2 separate regions of the Homo sapiens genome follow, and region 1 is linked to region 2. Evidence: promoter capture Hi-C in human tissues and cell types (Jung and others, 2019). All regions are on one chromosome and are shown on one strand. The core of a region is centred on a gene start or on the middle of the fragment in contact, and the rest is flanking DNA. Distances in the headings are between cores, read along the strand shown.

What was found. The method cuts DNA at HindIII sites, captures the fragments that hold promoters and counts their contacts. A contact is called where the count stands out against the background at its distance.
Region 1: a fragment that was not itself captured here is called in contact with the fragment with the promoter of SSBP1 in region 2 in 1 of the 25 tissues and cell types used here (adrenal gland).

What each region holds. Positions count from the first base shown.
Region 1 is chr7:140,473,595-140,476,294 of GRCh38, reverse strand. All of the region lies in intron 1 of MKRN1 (makorin ring finger protein 1), which reads left to right. Among named protein-coding and RNA genes, the nearest start is that of MKRN1, 4.6 kb to the left of the region's middle. The HindIII fragment of the contact is 7,012 bases long and covers 1-2,700 here.
Region 2 is chr7:141,736,908-141,739,607 of GRCh38, reverse strand. It overlaps SSBP1 (single stranded DNA binding protein 1), which reads right to left and starts at 1,250. Exons shown (of 7, transcript NM_003143.3): 1 at 1,198-1,250; 2 at 418-484. The coding sequence starts at 441. It overlaps WEE2-AS1 (WEE2 antisense RNA 1), which reads left to right and starts at 1,566. Exons shown (of 4, transcript NR_199841.1): 1 at 1,566-2,225. RefSeq lists an enhancer at 1,348-2,233. The HindIII fragment of the contact is 9,000 bases long and covers 1-2,140 here.

The DNA.
Region 1 (2,700 bases), core at 153-2,652, 1.3 Mb after region 2:
TAAACATTGCACGCCAGCAATGGGAGACACAATATTAGGTGTTCAAGAGAGTGCAGATGTATGTACTGTATTATAAATAAACATTTTCAATATGTTTGCTAGGTAAACATCACCTAAAGAATCAGGTAGAGGTGTGTTTTAGTGTTTGTGCTCATTTCTCCCTATAGCACATCACTCCTGTATCTAGGAATTTGACTAAAGCTATTTTCTTCACTTAGAAGTTTTGATTAGAATGTTTTTAATTGCTCGGAATCACCTGTATTTTCCTACTGGTTACATTTTTTCTAATGTTTCTCCTGGGGTTTTCATTGTGTTTTATACCTTTCCTCAGAAACTGTGTTATGCTGCCACCACCAGGCTGTTTTTCATATCTTTTATTAGAGCAATACTAAGAAACAGAAATGCTCATTGCATCTGCTACCTTGAGTTACCTTGAGTGTGTGAGGTTAGAACAGTTAATACTTAAAGAGAAGTTGTAATTTGAATTTAGACCCCTCTTTATTAGAGTGCTTCTATAATGGCAGATAAGTGTTCTGGTAGTTGAAATAATACACAAAAAAACAAGTGTTTAATTTTTAATTTTTCAAAAAACTCTTTTCTTGATTTTTATTTGTATTTATTTGTATTTTTTGAGATAGGGTCTCGCTCTGTCCCCTAGGCTGGAATGCAGTGGCAGTGTCTTGGCTCATTGCAGCCTCCACCTCCCAGGCTCAAGCAATCCTCCTGCTTGAACCTCCCCAGTAGCTGGAATTACAGGCACGTGCCACCACCCCAGGCTAATTTTTTTTTGCATTTTTGATAGAGACAGGGTTTCACCCTGTTGCCTAGGCTGGTCTTGAACTCCTAAGCTCAAGTGTTTCACCCGCCTCGGCCTCCTAAAGTGCTGGGATTACAGGTGTGAGCCACCATGCTTGGCCTTGAAAGTTGTGTTTTGTTTGTTTGTTTGTTTGTTTTCTGAGATGGAGTCTGTGTCGCCCAAGCTGGAGTGCAGTGGCACGATCTCGGCTCACTACAACCTCTGCCTCCTGGGTTCAAGGAATTCTGGTGCCTCAGCCTTCCGAGAAGCTGGGATTACAGGCACGTGCCATCACACTCGGCTAATTATTTGTACGTTTAGTAGAGATGGGGTTTCACCATGTTGCCCAGGCTGGTCTTGAACTCCTGACCTCAGGTGATCCACCCACCTTGGCCTCCCGAAGTCCTGGGATTACAGGCATGAGCCCCCGTACCTGGCCTCAAAAGTTTTTAAAAATGTGGTTAACGTAACTTAAAGATCAGCTGGGCGTGGTGTCTCACCCCTGTAATTCTAGTACTTTGGGAGGCCAAGGCAGGTGGATCACTTGAGGTCAGGAGTTCGAGACCAGCCTGGCCAACATGACGAAACCCGTTCTCTACTAAAAATACAAAAATTAGCTGGGCGTGGTGGCGGGCACCTGTAATCCCAGCCACTCTGGAGGCTGAGGTGGGAGAATCACTTGATCCCAAGAGGCAGAGGCTGCAGTGAGCCAAGATTGCACCACTGCACTCCAGCCTGGGTGACAGAGTGAGATTTCGTCTCAAAAAAAAAAAAAAAGAAAGAAGGAAATCCTTCAGAAATTCTTTATCTGAGTGCTGTGACGTCCATAGTGAAATTTATTACTTGGAAACTACATAGTGGTTGTGAGAGGAAATAAGTAATAAATATTAAATGGTATTAAAAAGATTATGCAACTGGGAAAGAAAAATTAATTTGCTATCGCTACCATGATTCACCATCACATCTAGCTGTCTTCTACAGCCTTTTATTTATTTATTTTTTTTTTGAGACGGAGTCTCAGTGGCGTGATCCTGGTTCACTGCAACCTCTGGGCCCCCCCCAACCCACTGCGAGTTCAAGCAATTCTGCCTCAGCCTCCCAAGTAGCTGGGACTACAGGTGTGTGCCACCATGCCTGGCTAATTGTTTGTTTTTTTTGTATTTTTAGTAGAAACAGGGTTTCACTGTGTTAGCCAGGATGGTCTTGAGCTCCTGACCTCATGATCCACCTGCCTCAGCCTCCCAAAGTGCTGGGATTACAGGTGTGAGCCACCGCACCTGGCCTAATTTTTGTATTTTTGGTAGATAGTGGGTTTCACCATGTTGGCCATGCTGGTTTTGAACACCTGACCTCAGGTGATCCACCTGCCTCTGCCTCCCAAAGTGCTGGGATTGTAGGTGTGAGCCACCGGGCCCACCCTACAGTCTTTTATTCTTTCTTTCTTTCTTTCTTTCTTTCTTTCTTTCTTTCTTTCTTTCTTTCTTTCTTTCTTTTTTTTTTTTTTTTGAGACGGAGTTTCGCTGTTGTTGCCCAGGCTAGAGTGCAGTGATACAATCTTGGCTCGGTGCAATCGCCATCTCCTGGGTTCCAGCGATTTTCCTCTCTCAGCCTCCAGAGTAGCTGGGATTACAGGCTTGTACCATCACACTCGGCTAATTTTTGTATTTTTAGTAGGTACCGCTTTCACCATGTTGGTCAGGCTGGTCTCAAACTCCCAACCTCAGGTAATCCACCCGCCTTGGCCTCCCAAAGTGCTGGGATTACAGGCATGAGCCACCGAACCCGGCTTTCTACCTTTTTCTAACAAGTATATATTATGTGCACAGATAGTTGGAGATAAAAAGGGGAATAAACCAGTCTTTACCCATCAGGAATTTATAATCTAGTTTGATAAATGGTATACT
Region 2 (2,700 bases), core at 1-2,500:
TGAGATGCTCTCTTCAGTGTGGAAAGATGGGGGAAGAGGAACGTTTAGCAACACAGGAGGTAGATGGTCAAAAAAGCAACTACATGCCTTAAGAAAAAAGTTGGAACAATGATTCCTACAGTCTTTAGGTCACTAAAGACCTTTAATGTCCTCTCACTGGTTAAATTCAAGCAACACACACACATTTTAAAAATTAATGATTCCTATTACGTGTGAATAAACCTGAACTTTTTTTTTGTTTTAGTGAACATAATTTACACTGGCAAAATCGTCCCCAATCCTCCATATCAAATGAGTATAGAGGTGGGTGGGTGAGCTCAAAGGTCTTTTGCCCCTGTAGTTAAAAGCCTAAAGAAGTCTTCTGATCACTGTGGCTGATAGTAATACATCTCAGTATTAATACAGACAAGTGACTACCTGTAATACAGGTCTTCGAAACATGGCTTCTATTTTCTTTTCTTACAGTCTAATCTTTAGGCTTTTCCTGAAGGAAAAAAACAAAATAAGAAAAAAACATTACCTCTTATGGCAAAAGTACAACTCACCAGTCCTAAATTCCTAACTATATTCATAATTTTTATGCACTCCAATTTTGTGACCACAACGTACCAACATTCCTGCACATCTGATGAGGATTCCTTCCTCCCTCCCAAATAAACTCACACCTGTATGTCTTTTTGGTCCCAAATAACTTCCTCTTCCTCCAACCCATCGACAAAATTTTGATTCTGAGTTAATCCCACTTCCAATCCACTGTCTTCTCAAATTTCATTACTATGCAAGCTCCCTTAGAGCAGAGATTTGTATCTGCTTTATTCACTGCCATTTTCTAAACTTCTAAAAAAGTTCTTAATGCATAGTAAGGCCTCCATAAATATTAGCATCACCAAGGGACTTATATCTGAAACCTGTTACTGAAAAATTACTGCCTTCATCTCCGTTAACAAAGACCAAGCAGCGTAGAGACCCCCGGGCTAGCCAGCCACACCATAGGGAGAGGTGGACACCCTTTACCGAAGATGGCGCCACCACCTGAAAACCGAGGAGAACTGGAAGGAAATCACGCGGTCCTCCGCACGACTGATGAAAGGGCCAGACACCTACACAGAAACACCTCCCGACCCACGCAGGATCACGCGCAGCCAAAACACACGACTCCAGCACTTCCTTCGCGCTGGCTATCCCTTCCTCCCTCACCTGACGATCTAACCCGAGCAGCCCAGCCACGCAGGGGATCACTTCCGGCGCACAGGGAACGCAAAGCTCGCCAGAGGAAAAAGGAAACAGAAACTCCGCAACTTGCGCCTTGGAAATACTGCCGGCTAGCGCTGCGGGAAACGGCTCCCCTTAACTCTGAAGTTCCGCGATCTTCTCTTTGTGCGCGGGCGGATGGATCAACGCCGCCAAGTGGTGAGTTTGGAAGGTTTCAAGTTTAGAAGGTTTCAAGTTTAGAAGGTTTCAAGTTTGGAAAGAAATGAAATTATGTGATGAGGTTTCTAACTGGGCCCAGGAGGGGGCGAGGTAGGCAAAACAGAGACTAGCTCTGCCTGGAGGGAAAAAAAAGCAACATTTGTGACCAGCCTAGGCGACATAGTGAGACCTGTCTCTACAAAAAATATATAATTAGCTGGGCGTGGTGGCGCGCGCCTGTGGTCCAAGCTTCTCCGGAGGCTGAGGTCGGGGGATCGCCTGAGCCCTGGAGGTCGTTGCTGCATTGAGCCGTGAACGCACCACTGCATTCCAGCCTGGGCAACAGAGCGAACTCTATCTCAAAACAAAACAAAACAAAACAAGAAAAAGAAAAAAAGAAGAAAATTAAAAAAAAAAAGAAAGAAAAAGAACGTCCCAGGTCTGTTGAAGCACTAAGAAAAGCAGAAAAAGAAAGGGGAGCCAGGGAAGGGCTGGCAGGCTGTGCAATTTAAGGGAGCACCAGAAAAACTGGCAATCAAATAATATATTAATGTAATATTTTAAAAAGTAAAAATTAATGCAGGAAATCCGGGAGGAACAAAATAAGAGTCATGTGTACCTTAACAACAGGGTAAGGTCTGAGGATTGCGTCATTAGGCGATTTTGTTGCTGTACGAACACCACAGAATGTACTTTGACGACCTAGATGGTGGAGCCTGGACACACCTCGGCTCTGTGGTGTGGCCTGCTGCTTCCAGGCTGCAAACCTGACAGCATGGGGCTGTACTGAATACCGCAGACCATTGTAATTCATGGTAAGTATCTGTGTGTCTAAACATATGTAAACATGGAAAAGGTACAGTACAAATGCGGTATAAAAGATAAAAATGGCACACCTGTATGGGGCGCTTACCATGAATGGAGCTTGCGGAACTGGAAGTTGCTGTGGGTGAGTAAATGAGTGAGTGGTGGCCCAACATGAAGGTCTAGGACATTATTGTACCCACTAAACACTTCATAAACACTGTACACTTAGGCTACACTCAGTTTATAAAAAATACTTTTCTTCCTTTAATAAACTTTCACTCACTATAACTTTATAAATCTTCCAAATTTTTTTACGTTTTAACTGTTTTGTAATAACAATTAGCTTAAAACACACACTGTACCACTGTACAAAAATATTTTTCTTATATCCTTATTCTACAAGCTTTTTTCTACCTTTGCTTTTTTTCTTTTTTTTTTTAACTTTTTAGCCATTTTTTAAAAAAACTAAGACATAAACACACA